Regions from separate parts of the Homo sapiens genome. Here all the other regions are linked to region 1. Evidence: promoter capture Hi-C in 16 types of primary human blood cells and fetal thymus (Javierre and others, 2016). All regions are on one chromosome and are shown on one strand. The core of a region is centred on a gene start or on the middle of the fragment in contact, and the rest is flanking DNA. Distances in the headings are between cores, read along the strand shown. Region 1 holds the start of GDF3 (growth differentiation factor 3). Region 2 overlaps PEX5 (peroxisomal biogenesis factor 5). Region 3 has its middle 40 kb from the start of ACSM4.

Region 1 (5,071 bases), core at 1,148-3,647:
CAAAGAATGTTTTTGTTTGTTTGTTTGTTTGTTTTGAGACGGAGTCTTGCTCTATCCCAGGCTGGAGTGCAGTGGCGCGATCTCTGCTCACTGCAAGCTCCGCCTCCTGGGTTCACGCCATTCTCCTGCCTCAGCCTCCCGAGTAGCTGGGACTACAGGCACCCGCTACCATGCCCGGCTAATTCTTTTGTATTTTTAGTAGAGACGGGGTTTCACCATGTTAGCCAGGATGGTCTCGATCTCCTGACCTCGTGATCCGCCCGCCTCGGCCTCCCAAAGTGCTAGGATTACAGGCATGAGCCACCGCGCCCAGCAACGAAGAATATTTTATTCCCATTTTACACTTGAGTGGCTTGCTCATGGTCACATAACTAATCAGTAGTGGAACCAGAATTTGAACCAGTTAGTCTGATTTCTGACCTTAAGTCAGGAAAGTCAAATAAAGAAAACCCAAATACAACCTACTCTTATTGTTGAAAAAAGGTTAAGATTGTAGATTAATTTAAAAGTGTTAAATAAGATAGAAACAGGAGATAAGAGAAGTGGGACCTGCGAGCAGTGGCACCTGCCTGTAGTTCTAGTTACTTGGAGGCTGAGGCAGAAGATTCCCTTGATCCAGTAATTCAAGGCCAGCCTGGGCAACACAGTGAGACACTCCCCAAACCTAGTCTCTAAAAAAAAAAAAGAAAAAAAAGAAATGGGGAAGACCTCACTATATAAAAGAGTGAGACCTCTAGAAATAGCAACCAATTAATTCCTTAATTTATTTTTTGCACAGATACTTATCAAATGTCTGCTACCTGCCGGACACTTTCTTCACCAGTGGAGATACTTTGGGGAAAAAGACACACTGAAGATACTTAGGCAAAGAGACACAGTTCTGATCCTCAAGGTGTGAGTTGTCTGAAAAGGAAGGAGGCAAACACAGTAAAATGCACTGCAGAAACTGTAATGGAGGGCCGGGTGCAGTGGCTCACACCTATAATCCCAACACTTTGGGAGGCCGAGGTGGGTGGATTACCTGAGGTCAGGAGTTTGAGACCAGCCTGACCGACATGGAGAAACCCCGTCTCTACTAAAAATACAAAAGTAGCCGGGCATGGTAGCGCATGCCTGTAATCCCAGCTACTAGGGAGGCTGAGGCAGGAGAATTGCTTGAACCTGGGAGGCAGAGGTTGTGGTGAGCTGAGATCGTGCCATTGCACTGCAGCCAGGGCAACAAGAGCGAAACTCCGTCTCAAAAAAAACAAAAAAACAAAAAAACTGTAATGGATGCCCAAGTATGGCTCAGTGGGAGAAAGAAGTATCTCAATCTATTTTGGTGAGTCGAAACTGTGGAAGTAGAGGTGACCTTTGAACTTGGTCTGTGTAAAGGCTCTGAGATGAAATGAGCTCACAGAGCTACAAATAGGTCAATGTAATTAGAGCATCCACACTAAGGATGGTGGGTGGTGAGAAACAAGGCTGGCGGCTGGGTGTAGTGGCTCATGCCTACAATCCCAGCACTTTGGGAGGCCGAGGTGGGAAGACTGCTTGAGACCAGGAGTTCAAGACCAGTCTGGACAACATGGCAAGGCCCCATCTCTGTAAAAAATAAAACAATTAGCTGGAAGTGGTGCCCTATGCCTGTAGTCTCAACTACTCCAGAGGCTGAGGTGGGATGATCTCTTGAGCTCAGGGGGTCGAGGCTTGCAGTGAGCCAAGATCAGGCCACTGCACTCCAGCCTGGGCAACAGAGCGAGACCCTGTCTCAAAAATAAATAAATACATAAATAAAAATAAAAATAAAAATAAAATAATGAAATCTACTTGAGTATTTGTCTAATCCAGGGGTGTCCAATCTTTTGGCTTCCCTGGGTCACATTGGAAGAAGAAGAATTGTTTTGGGCCACACGTAAAATATACTAACACTAATGATAGCTGATGAGCTTAAAAAAATCACAAGAAAGTTTCATAATGTTTTACGGAAGTTTATGAATCTGTGTGGGGCTGCATTCAAAGCCATCGTGAGCCTCATGTGACCCTCCGGCCGCAGGTTGGACAAGCTTGGTCTATGTAGATGATTAATTACAAGTCTATGAATTATTCACTGCTCTATTCCTAGCACCTATCTCAGCACCGTGCACATAATAGATGCTTAGTAACTGTTTGTTAAATGAATAAATGCATGTCTCCTTTTCACTCTGTCTACTGCTGACAACCTCACATTGTTGTAGAATTTATGTCCATGCATTGGTAATCTTTGTTCTGTGAACTTTTTCCTGGAAGAGTAGAGCAAGAGAAGAGAAAAAAAAATTCCCTCTTCACATCCAATGGCCTTTGAGGAGCTGGGAAGAGAGCAATTCACACTTGATTATCTTACATCAGATAAATTAGCAGCCTCTGAATTGTTGGGCAGTCTGGCAGTGGAGCTCTCCCCGGTCTGACAGCCACTCCAGAGGCCATGCTTCGTTTCTTGCCAGATTTGGCTTTCAGCTTCCTGTTAATTCTGGCTTTGGGCCAGGCAGTCCAATTTCAAGAATATGTCTTTCTCCAATTTCTGGGCTTAGATAAGGCGCCTTCACCCCAGAAGTTCCAACCTGTGCCTTATATCTTGAAGAAAATTTTCCAGGATCGCGAGGCAGCAGCGACCACTGGGGTCTCCCGAGACTTATGCTACGTAAAGGAGCTGGGCGTCCGCGGGAATGTACTTCGCTTTCTCCCAGACCAAGGTAAGGAAATAGAGTGTTATCCAGAAAAACATCTGGAACTGGGTGGTGTGAAGAAAGGAAAGGACAATAGGAAATGACAATTACTGATGGCCTTGTGCTGGTATTTTTCATATTTTGTCTCATTTAATTCCAGCCACGATCCTGAGAGGAAGTTAGATATTCTTATCAAGTTCCTAACAGTAAGGAAATTAGGCTCAGACAGTAGGTAACCTGTAATCTATTCAAGATCATACAGCTAGTGTGTGAGAACAAAGTCAGGATTTGAAATAGGTTTTTGTTTTCTGAATCAACTGCTTTGTGCTTCAGTTGAGATGAAAGAGGTGAGGGAGGAATCAGAGCTCAGTCTCCCACCCTGCAGCCCATATATACACATCCTGCCGTCTTCCATGTGGCAAGCAGGGTATGAAAATTTTGAGGTTGGTTTGCCCAGGAGTCCTGCTTCCCTTATTTGTACCTCCTGGCTACTCTTGTTGGGTGGCAAAGGTTATTCTAGATTTGTGAATAGAGAGCAATAATATATACAACTGTCATATCCTTTTAAAAGGATCTCAGTGAGTGGGATCCAGTACTTTCCCAAACTGACCACCCACCAAATAACTTAGGTCTTCCATTAACAGTAGATCCTCCAACCCCATTCCTGCCCCTAGTTCTCCCCACCCAATTCTTATTCAAAGTCTGAAATGGGTGTTGAGAATCTGCATGTCTATACAACCTCCCGGGTGTTTCAGATGCAGAATTTAGAGCCTTGGTTAGTTTTACAGCAACTGGAGAGAAGATTTGAATATTTATTTGTCCAAGAAGCACTTATTGGATACCTATGGTGAGCCAGGAACTGTGTATGGCCTTGAGAATACAAGATAAAGTTTGCCTTTTTTTTTTTTTTTTTTTTTTGAGAGTCTCGCTCTGTCCCCCAGGCTGGAGTAGAGTGGCACTTTCTCAGCTCACTGCAACCTCCGCTTCCTGGGTTCAAGTGATTCTTCTGCCTCAGCTTCCCAAGTAGCTGGGATTACAGGCGTGTGTCACCAAGCCCAGCTAATTTTTTAATTTTTTAATTTTTTAGTAGAGACAGGGTTTCACTATATGTTGGCCAGGCTGGTCTTGAACTCCTGACTTCAGGTGATCCGCCTGCCTCAGCCTCCCAAACTGCTGGGATTACAGGCCTGAGCCACCGCACCCAGCCCAGAATTACCTTTTAAAAATGCGTATTGAGTCGTACTGCTCCTCCACGTAAAATTCTCGTCTGCAAAATTCTGCAAGAGTTGACCCACCATGCCCTGCCTGTTCTGACCCTGCTGCTTACTTCCCCAGTCTCACCTTTTACACCCTCTCCTTGCACACTCAACTCCAAGCTCATAGTAGTCTATTCCTTCTAGAGCATGCACTCTTGTCTCATCCTCACACGTGCTGTATCCAGGCTGCCTGAAGTACTCCCTCAGAATTTGCCTGGTCAAGTACTTCAGGCTTTTCTTCTTCTTCCTCTTGTTCTTCCTCTTTTTGTTTTTTCCCCTTGAGACAGGTCTTGCTGTGTCACCCAGGCTGGACTGCAGTGGCACAATCTCGGCTCACTGCAGCCTCCACCTCCTGGGCTCAAGCGATCTTCCCACCTCAGCCTGCCGAGTAGAGTAGTTGGAACTACAGGCTACAGGTGCACGCAACCACGCCAGGCTGATTTTTGTACTTTTTTATAGAGATGAGGTCTCACCATGAGGCTGGTCTCTAACTTCTGAGCTCAGGCAATGGCCTGCCTTGACCTCCCAAAGTGCTGGGATTATAGGCATGAGCCACCATGCCCAGCCAAATTTTGTTAGGTTTTGAATGATGCTTGAGAATGAAGAGGTGTGGTGGTGGGGTGCTTAAGAGTGTTTCGGTTTGAGTTGTAATTTCTCCCTAAGCTGAATGACCTCAGAAAATACCTACTTAAGGCTGGGCGTGGTGGCTCACACCTGTAATCCCAGCACTTTGGGAGGCCGAGGCAGGCAGATCACGAGGCCAGGAGTTCGAGACCAGCCTAGCCAACATGGTAAGGCCCTCCCCCCACTCCCCTGACCCCCGTCTCTACTAAAAATACCAAAAAAAAAAAAAAAAAAAATTAGCCAGGTGTGGTGGCGGGCGCCTGTAATTCCAGCTACTCTGGAGGCTGAGGCAGGAAAATCGATTGAACACCCGGGAGGCAGAGGTTGCTGTGAGCCAAGATCGCACCACTGCACTCCAGCCTGGGTGACAGAGCAAGACTCCATCTCGGGGAAAGAAAAAGAGAGAAAATACCTACTCAAGCGTGAAGTCATTCTACCAAACAAAATGATGGCATTAGAGGCCAAATGAGTTATTTGTGAAAAGGGAGAAATTGAAGATGCAAATAG
Region 2 (5,071 bases), core at 1,507-4,006, 490 kb after region 1:
ACTTACACTGCCCAAGGAAGCTGGACTATCAATTCCCAGTAAAAGTGGGGGAAAGGACAGACATTACAGATGTGGTAGACCCTATCAGAAATGGCAGCTGATGATAACAGTTACCCTAAATCGTGGGGTCCTACCCAAAAAGCAGCACCAAGAAAGGGCATGATGAGCAGAGAGATCTGTAGCTGGATGTACAGCCCTTGAATTACCAAGGGACTCAGAGATGACACAGCTCATTTTCCTACAATTATGTAGGAACTAGAACACAGACTACCCACCCCTACGTTGAGGCAGCTCCTGAAAGGCCGTACCGCTTATGGTCATCAGCCCGCCCCCTTGGTAGGCCCATTTGGGGAGAGGGAATCACATCCAAAGCGGGGATCCCTCCAGGTGGACACTCACAGGGCAGCCCGTCCCACTGTCACTGGGGCAGGCCAAACATAGTTAGGAGGGTGGACAGATCCCGCGCGTCGGCTGCCCCATAGGCATCGCTCTGGCCTAACATAGACAATGCCAAACGCAGGGTGCTCCAGATGTTCTCCGACATGGCACCTCCTTCACCCCGGGGGCCCCGGCTTTTCCTCTGCATGTTCAGGGCCTCCAGAAAGTGCTCCACAGCCTCCCTGTAAGGAAGAAGAGGAATGAGAGCTGTTAAGCTGAACAACAATGGAAGGAAGCAGGTCAGCTAGCAGTGGGAGGGAGAAAGCTAGGGCTGGTTAGTCAAACAGGATCTAAGAATAAGGAGCTAGGGCCAAAGGCAGGGAGAAAAAGCTCATTCATTCATTTCTCAATAGATACTCTCACCGGTGAGCCCCGAGGTTGATGCAGCTGATGCCCAGGTTATAGCGGGACCGGATATAGCCAGGCTGGAGCTCGAGGGCCCGGCGGTACGCAGCTACTGCTTCTTCACTCTGGTTTCCATTGGCCAGGGTGGCGCCTAGCTTATTCCACAGCAAATAGTCCTGGGATAGGGATGCAGAACGGATGGGAACAGCTTGACTCAGCTCAAACTCTGCACATTACTCCACCGACTCAGCTCAAACTCTGCACATTACTCCAGCTGTTTCACTACTCTGTTAGCTAACATGTTTCGTCCCATTCCATTCTCAACAGTTCGGTGTGTGGCTACAATGTAGCCCCTCTCACCCTATGCAGACTCTCTTATGTCCAGATGACCCTACACTCCCAGCCTTCTTTTCCCAGTCCTCCCAAGGCAGTCAGTACATGGAACACTGGAATGAAATACCCCAAGACTCCAAAAGTCTGAACAAATTATTCTTTTTTGTGGGGGTGGGCAGGGTCTTGCTATGTTGCCCAGGCTGGATTTGAACTCCCAGGCTCAAGTGATCCTCCCACTTCAGCCTCCCAAGTAGCTGGGACTACAGGCATGCACCATCAAACCCAGCTTCCCAACAAATGGCTCTTCAATAAGGTACACAGTCATGTCCCATTTCCATTCCTCCCCTGGGCTCACATTGGGACGAACGCTGAGGGCAGCTGTGAAGCAGTCCACGGCCTTGTCATACTCCCCACTCAGGTTGAAAAGGACTCCCAAGCCACACTGCACATCAGGGTCAATGGAGGTAGGGTCCAGCCGCACAGCTGCCAGGAAGAGCTCTTTCACTTCAAGAAACAGGGAGCTGGATGAAAAGGAAAAAAACACAAAGTAGGTAGATGAATGTCTCTATTCCCATCCCCCCAAATTAATTTCTTCATTGATCAACCATATCCCCAACATTCATCAATCTATCAGTCATCTCTTCTACTCTCAAAGTCCAATATAGAAGCCTGTTTTTCTATTTCATCCTAGCACTGAACTGTAGAATGCAGACCTCCTTCAACTTGATCCTAGGTTTCCCATCCCATTCTCAGGACCCTTCAGTCTCAATCCATCCAAACTTCCAAAACCAAGGTCACCCTCCTACTGGGACTTAGGTTACTGTAATTCCTCATCCTAGGAACCCCTCATACTCACTCAGACAAGAGAGATCCCAGGATACGCTTGCTGGGGCCCAGTCCTGCCCCACCAGCCCCTTCTTCAGCAGGTGTCACCAGATGGGCATAGGCTGGTGTGTACCGCAGCCAGTCTCGTAGGGTTTCACAGGCCTGTCGCTGCAGGGACTCGTTGGTGAAGCTCACAGCCAGCGCCATCAGTGCTGTCTGGTTATCTGGCTTTAGCTCCAGACACCTGTTTGATCAGGGATGGGCAGACTTGATATCTGCAATGACTGACACTGGCACATGTGAGCACCCTGGGATCCAAGCCAAGCTTTGAAATGCAGAGTCACAATGGCCTCACCTGTGACTCCTCTGACATGAGTTAATAATAAAGTTACAGATCTAAGGGGAAGGTTTTAGCAGGCAAGGAGCCAACCAAAGCCGCAAATAAAATCAAAAGCCGATGAAGGAATGGAATTCACTCCAACCCTCAGAGTTTCAGCATGAGAAAACACTCTTGATAGCACTCAGAAAGAAGACAAGGATCCAGGTCTGGGCTTCTGTCATTCAAAAGGTTATATGCAGAGCCTTGGAAGCACCTCACCCACACCTTTCAGTGTACTCACCTCCGCAATGCACTGATGGCTAATAGTTCTTGTTCATTCTCTGCCTGGGTGGTACCCAGATACTGCCAAGCCTAGAGGGAAGTTGACAGATTCCATCACCCCATATTCACCTCTCCATTCGCCCTTCCCCCTGGCTTCTCCCACTCACCATCTCGCTCTCAAGCCCCTATCCTAGGCCATCACCCAGGCCCTAACCCATCTGCACTACTCTCCTTGGGGCCTTTCTCAAGATGGAGGAAGCAGTCTCTAGCCAGAAATGAGACTATGGAGTCACTCACTTCCATGTGCTTAGGATCCTGCTGCACAGCTGCCTCAAAAAGCAGCACAGCATTTGGCAGGTCCCCCTCCTGAAGGCGCCGCAGCCCTTCTTCAAAAGGCTGAGGGTGATCACGCAAGGGGTTCTCCTCCTCAAACTGGTACCCCTACAAGAAAAGCACGTGAGAGATGGACTGAGAGGTGGCACCGTCAGAACAGCAGGGATGTGAGGATGACAACCAGCAGGCAGAGAAGCTGAGGGCCTCCAAACAGGTTCCGGAATTAATTGCTGGCAAATTCTCCATATTATAAAGATCATGTATGACACAAGTAAAATCATTTGGTATCAGGTTTGTGCTCCCATCTCCTGTTCATGATACCTGGGAAGCTAGGAAAGTCTACAAATTCATCTGCGCTGGAAATAAGCTTATTTTAGGAAGTCATCACAGGCTTGTATTCCCACACCTTGACTTCTCACCACGGGGCAGAATGTCTCAACAGGATCTGCTTATAGTAATGAGACAAAGTGTCCCTAGCTATGCAAAGTGCATTTCTTGTTATCCTTCAATAATGTGATGATGTATAAAGGAAATGTTGTTTGGAGTCCTGCTATTCAAATATAACTCTTACTTAGCTCAGAGTCATTCCACATGTCAACTAGATAAAACATTTTCAAGCATTTTGAAAATGTTAATTTATTCCCCGATTTCATTCTTAATAATCATGAATATTAATCTGTATCTGACAGTAAGCAAAAGCTGGATCCCAAAATCCAGATGGCAGAGAATACTTCAGAAAGACACCATTCTCTTCCAGCTGAGGATTTCTCACTTTAGAGAAGAGTTACGATACTATCTGCAAAGCTTTGTCAACTGGCATTTTACACTAGGCAGAGAAGAAATGAGGTAAAGGGGAAGTCACTAGTAAGCTGCAAAATCTGGGACATGCAAATAAAAAGTCCGTTTTTGGAGAGTAGTTACCATCATAAAATAATACACCAGAACGAAAACAAGATGCAAAACAACAGGTGGAGGTCTTTCTAAATGCAGTTAAGAATAAATTCAGATAAAACTGTACAAAATAAAGACATGAGGCCCTTTTTCATTATTATTGTGAAAATGATAAAGAATCAAAAACACTTAAATCTTACCAGCAAAATTCTAAGTCATGATCAGATGCAAATTATTTGTCACAAATGAAAATTAAATAATTACAATGGGGGGTTTAAGAAGAAAGACATATTATAGTAGATTTGAGATAAATGTATAGAAAGTATATTTATATTGAAAACAAGTGTGTTTTTGGACATCTCTGCATAATATAAAAACTAAGAAGGCAGAAAATGACGCTAGTCCAGTGATCAGCAAACTTTTTCTGCGAAGGGCCAGATAATAAATATTTCAGGCTTCGTGGATCTGCTGCAACTACTCACCTCTACTGTTGTAGTGCGAAAGCAGCCAGACATAAGTAAACAAATGAGCACGGCTGTCTTCCAATAACATTTTATTTATGGACACTAAAATTTGAATTTTATATAATTTTCACTTGTCACAAAGTATTACTCTTTTGATTTTCTCCAACCATTTAAAAATGTTAAAACCATCCTCAGCTAGTGGATCACTAAAAACATAAAGATTTATCCCACAAGCCAGTGTGCTGGCCCTTGCCCTAGACTATTACAGTTCAATAAAATAAATCCTTCTGCATTCAACCTCAACTATTGTTCATCATTAATACGTGTTTTAAGCCACTCTACAGAAAACAGAGATTACTGTCATCTATAATGCAGTTTCCTAATAAAAGTAATTCCTGCCTCTCAGAGCCATTGAGAACATCAAATGGGAATCTTCACCAACGCCTTACCAAAAAGCTTAAGATACTATCTGTAAATAGCTATTATCCTCACTGCTCTAGATACTTCCTTAAGATATGATGGCCTGTATATGACAGCCAGAAGTGATGCGAATGCTCTTCAGGTGTCTTCATTAGATAATACAACAACTCAATGCCACCATCTTGCAACCACAGGATTCTCTAAGTTTCCTCTCATCCATATTATCTACCCTCCTTGAAGTCTCATCAATTGCTGATCAAAGAGGAATTTTCCAAAATTAGAATATTTGCATAGATGATGGAAAAAGAGTACTCTGGGGGATCCCTCAACAACCCACAGAACACAGGATAAGCTTGGCTTCACTGTTACATCCTGAAAAGCCAAACCCAAGTCATTAATTTTATCTGATACACGGTCTGGT
Region 3 (5,071 bases), core at 1,212-3,711, 430 kb after region 1:
TTTTCTTCCAGTTATAATAAGCACCAGGGACCATATGAACATGCAGCTTGATCATCAGCTGGGCCTTTAGGGAGCATACTCCATCCCTGGCAAGTGAGGAACTAAAGTAATTATAGCCCAGTATGGATTTCAAAGGGAAAATGGCAAATCATACAGAATAGAGAATATACCCCTTAGGTAAGCTCCTTGAACAAGAGGCTGAGAATGTTGAATTACTCCTCAAGGTCTTATAATCACATCAATCCAAAACCAGGTGCCTATAAATCATCAGAGATCTGTTTCACTTGAAAACTGTCCACATAATAATTGCAGGTATTCTTTACATGCATATAGTACATTGTAATTGCTGGGATCTCATGTGTTATTATTTTATCTAATCCTCACAAAAATCCTGTGAACTAGGCACTACCAGTACTATTATTTTATAAATGAGGAAACAAGCTCTGAGAGGTTAAGTAAATTGCCTAGGACCAAGCCTTATTTTCATGCTTGATTCTTTGTCTTTATTATTATTACCAACTTTCAGCATAACAGGTTGGTACCCTACCAACTTGCAGTGGTGACTAATGAGTTTTTAAAGTATGATTGTGAACTCATAAATATGCAATTATATATATTTATATACATATGCATACATATGTAGTCATTTTTTTTAATGCTCAAATTTTTGTCCCAAAGTGACTCAGGAGGGAGCCCCTTCAGGCTGGTTTCTGTGTCCCTTTTTTGACATGACTCAGTTGTCTTTGGAAGCTTTCTTATTTTCTGGCACAAATAAGATGTCCCAGGTTCATCTTGTACATTTCCTGTCACAGTTCTGAAGTCAGCCATTTCGCTAAAGAGTTCTGGTTTCCTTTAGTGAGAAATAGTATTTGACAATCAGTAAATCAACCATTATTTGCTGTTGAGCTTTACTAATATAAGAATGACTAACCACATTAGGCCTTGTATAGTCTTAGACTAGTAACTAACATTGTTGGCCCACAGTGCACAGTACCAGAAAGGAGCCGTGAGGCAAGACAGGAAGCTGAACAGACCTCCCTCCTTTGTGACTTAACATTATGTGTCTGGATCAATCTATATTTGGTTGAAACCCAGGATTATTTACTACTCAAATATTTACTAATTAATGTACTTTGTATCACACTCAGTGAAGAGTTTAGAGGTACACAAGGTACAGATACATAACAGCACACAGTTATTGGAATAAAGGAAATGGGAAAGTGTTGGAGGCCAAAAGAATGAGGGTCATGACCAACTCAGTATACCACTGGAGGCTATATGAGCAAATAGCAAACTGTTCTCATGAAAGCGGGAGTTGGCAAACTGGCAAACTGCATCTGCTGCCAGAAGGAATGCTGAGGCAGTCACGCCCCAAGCGCAGTGTTCCTTGTGGTTATCTATAGGAATATCTGAAGCCTGTAGTATAAAAAAAGCAATTAGGTGAACCTGTGATAAATCAAGCAGCTGACCAACCATTACCTTTCCTCCCTGTTGATTCTACGTAATAAATACAAAGGGCTGTAGAAGCTCAGGGCCCTTGCTCACTAGAAACAAGGAGCCCCCCACCCCTTCTTTTAAAACAGATCTTTTGTCTTTGTCTTCATTTCTGCATTCGTCCTCCTTCGTTCAGTCCCATAGTAACCGTCACAGGAAGGGGCTGTCACTCTGTCTTTGTCCCCTTAGGAGCTGATGGCACATACATTAGACAATAGCTAAACATGAGTTGCAGTATTTTCTATGCAGACAGACCAGTGAGTCAAAGATGGTGCTACCATAGACTCCAACCTCTACCTCCTGAGACTTCTGGCCTGAGAGGATAATTGCCTTAGGGAGTCTGCTCTTAAACAGTACTCAGATCTTCAGAGGTTTTCAAGAAGATGAAGGGATTCAGATGCCAGATGTGGTGATCAAAACATGAATTCCATTTCTTCCTCTAGGCCAGTGGGCAGAACCCCAGGTGCAGCCAGAAGAAGAAAGAGCTGTTGTTTCCTATGAATGGAAATCAGAAACCAGTATTTAAGGGTTTAATCCAAATTAATGATCTGCATTTCAGGGCCCCAGATGGTGTAGGTTGGATTACCCCATATATTGCTTCAGACTTTACCCTGTCAGTAAGTGGGGGGTGATGGGCTTGTCACATTTCTTATTTATTCAGCTGGATGAACAGATCATGAGAAATGGGGAAAGTCTATACTGGAACAATTAAATGTTTTTAGAGCCATGTCATTATCTTCCCTCACGCCATTGGAATATAAACTCTATAAAAAGGGAGATTTTTGTCTGTTCTGTTCACTATTCTATTTTTTGCACTTTGGACAATGCCTGGAACATAGTAGCTTTTTTATTTGTTAAATAAATTAATATATTTCTCCCAGAGCAACATCAACATGTGTGGGCTCTTCTTTAGGGACCTTCCTTTTGCCCTTGCTTGGCCCACATATGCATCTTTCTCCAAGGGAGGTATTTGTGGTCTGGATGTGGCTATTCTGGAGTTTCTCATTCATTAATTACCTTGTCAGATTGAACAACTGACATCCTTTGTACTGAAGAAATATCTACAGGAATGTTTTCTGCTGATGGACTTAGAGTTTTCCACTTTTAATAGATTTATTAGCAACAAAATAAAGCACATACACAACACACACACACACTTTTGGGCATGTGTGATGCATAAGTAGAGCTGGTAATTTGTCATCTCTAGACAAACTCAGAGAGGAAGGATGCAGTTTGTATCAGTCAGGATGAACTACGCTATGCTACATAATAAAGAATCCCCCAAATCTCCGTGGTCTATAACATCACAATCTTTTGCTCTCACTACTTGTTCAGCATGGGTTGGCTGAGAGATCTTCTGTGACCTGGCTGATAGAACAACCATTATCTGAAGGATCGCCCATCATAAGTGTGGGAAAGGAAGCAATTATGTGCTCCAGCCTAGACATGGTATACATCATTCCAGCTCATAATTCATTGGCCAGAGCTTGTCACAAGGCCCAAGTGGAAATTGTAGTACTATCTGGGGGGTTGATATGCTTTGGATCTGTGTCCCCACCAAATCTCATGTTGAATTATAATTCTCAGTGTTGGAAATGGGGCCTGGTGGGAGGTGATTGGATCATGGGGGCAGATTGGATCATGGGTGCTGATAGCCAGTGAGTTATCATGAGATCTGGTTATTTAAAAGTGTGTAAAGTATGTAGCACCTTCTCCCATCTCTCTTCCTCCTGCTCCGGCTATGTGAAGTGCTGGCTGCCCCTTTGCCTTCTGTCATGATTGTAAGTTTCCTGAGGTCCCCCAGGCAGCAGAAGCTGCTATGCTTCCTGTACAGCCTGCAGAACCATGAGCCAATTAAACCTCTTTTCTGTATAAATTACCCAGTTACCCAGTCTCAGATATTTATTTTTCTTTCTTTTTTTTCAGGTATTTCTTTATAACAATAAGAGAATGGACTAATACAGGGGTGGATAGCTGGGTAATAACTACCACAGTTGTTTTACCACAGTGTTCTAGATTGATTTTATTTCTGGAAGTTTCTTTCTTTCTCTTTCTTTCTTTCTTTCTTTCAACTTTGTTTCTTTCCTCCTTTTTTTCTTTGCCAATCTCTGGGAAATCATTTTTTCTCTGAGACAGTTTTTCACACTATTGCCCAGGCTGGAGTGTAATGGTGCCATTGTGGTTCACTGCAGCCTCAACCTCCAGAGCTCAGGTGATCCTCTCACACCGGCCTCCTGAGTGTCTGGGACTAAGGACATGTGCCTCCATGGCCGGCTGGTGGTAGTTTTTCATAACAGAACCCAAGAGCACTTTCCTAGAGAGCAGTAGTTTAAATATTAGACTGGCCATTTTGTAACCTCAGCAAACTAGGTCTTACAGCAGCAATGATCATAGACTTCGAATCAGAGAGACGCACCTCTGCTACTTAATAGTTGTGTGGCATTACATAAGACACTAAATCTCTCCAAGATGAGTACTGTCATCTCTAAATTGGGTCTTACTCACAGATAAGATGAAATTGTTATGAAGATACTAGACCATCTAGTGAATTGCTTAGTATACAATATCTGGTACATATTACCAATTCAATACATGTTAGTTAGCTTGGAAGATAGAAAGTCTTACATTTTATTAGTTGGTGTTTCTTGAGCCAAGTTTTCTTGGCAGGTAAAGCTTTTATGTTCTCAGGAGGTCTGGCAATTAAGATTGCTCAAATTTCTCTGTGGGGGAATGTTATTTGAAATGATTCTTCTGTTTACCAGGTTCAACTTACATTAATTCTCTGCTTCCACACACAGTCTTTCACCTATATTCTCTTTACTACAGAATATCTGGAAGTCTCTTCTTTTTAAAAAATTTTCTGAAATATATATATGTGTATATTTGTGTGTATATATACCTCTTTTCTGTATAAAGTACCCAGTTACCCAGTCTCAGGTATTTATTTTTCTTTCTTTTTTTTCAGGTATTTCTTTTTTTTTTTTTTTTTTTTTTTTTTTTGAGACAGAGTCTCGCTCTGTTGCCCAGGCTGGAGTGCAGTGGCAGAATCTCAGCTCACTGCAACCTCCACCTCCCCGGTTCAAGCAATTTTCATTCCTCAGCCTCCTGAATAGCTGGGATTGCAGGTGCGCCCCATCATGCCTGGCTAATTTTTATATTTTTAGTAGAGATAGGGTTCCACCATGTTGGCCAGACTGGTCTCGAACTCCTGGCCTCAAGTGATGTGCCTGCCATGACCTCCCAAAGTGCTAGAAGTCTCAATATTAGTCTCAACCTTGGATATCCATCAGAATCCCCAGGGCATTTTTCAAAAGATCTATGCCTGAGCCCCACCTCAGACCAATTAAATCAGTTTCTCTGGGAGTGGGGACCCAGTCATCCATATTTTTAAAGCTCCTCTGGGGATTCTGGTGAGCAGCGAGGACTGAGAACTGCTGCTCTACATGTCTGGTTTTTGCCCATGTCTCTAGCCTCATCTCCTGCCACTGTCCTCCCTGTGCTCATCACGCTTTTTTTTTTGCTGTTCATTGAACATGCCAAGGTGGCTCCTACTCCAGAACCTTGACATTCACTGTTC

The links. Contacts are between HindIII fragments. The CHiCAGO score rates a contact against its expected background, and 5 or more counts as called.
Region 2: a fragment that was not itself captured here is called in contact with the fragment with the promoter of GDF3 in region 1 in 4 of 17 cell types (M0 macrophages, monocytes, non-activated CD4 T cells and 1 more); the score reaches 6.9 in M0 macrophages.
Region 3: a contact is called between a fragment that was not itself captured here and the fragment with the promoter of GDF3 in region 1, in 3 of 17 cell types (M0 macrophages, total CD8 T cells and fetal thymus). The highest score is 5.5, in M0 macrophages.

What each region holds. Positions count from the first base shown.
Region 1 is chr12:7,693,101-7,698,171 of GRCh38, reverse strand. GDF3 (growth differentiation factor 3) reads left to right here and starts at 2,397. Exons shown (of 2, transcript NM_020634.3): 1 at 2,397-2,711. The coding sequence starts at 2,444. RefSeq lists an enhancer at 3,916-4,553. The HindIII fragment of the contact is 5,455 bases long and covers 2,048-5,071 here.
Region 2 is chr12:7,205,571-7,210,641 of GRCh38, reverse strand. It overlaps PEX5 (peroxisomal biogenesis factor 5), which reads right to left. Exons shown (of 16, transcript NM_001351132.2): 11 at 2,840-2,983; 12 at 2,562-2,632; 13 at 1,973-2,185; 14 at 1,472-1,637; 15 at 802-959; 16 at 1-620. The coding sequence ends at 419. Among named protein-coding and RNA genes, the nearest start is that of PEX5, 18 kb to the right of the region's middle. The HindIII fragment of the contact is 976 bases long and covers 2,269-3,244 here.
Region 3 is chr12:7,261,697-7,266,767 of GRCh38, reverse strand. No RefSeq gene overlaps it. Among named protein-coding and RNA genes, the nearest start is that of ACSM4, 40 kb to the left of the region's middle. The HindIII fragment of the contact is 3,417 bases long and covers 753-4,169 here.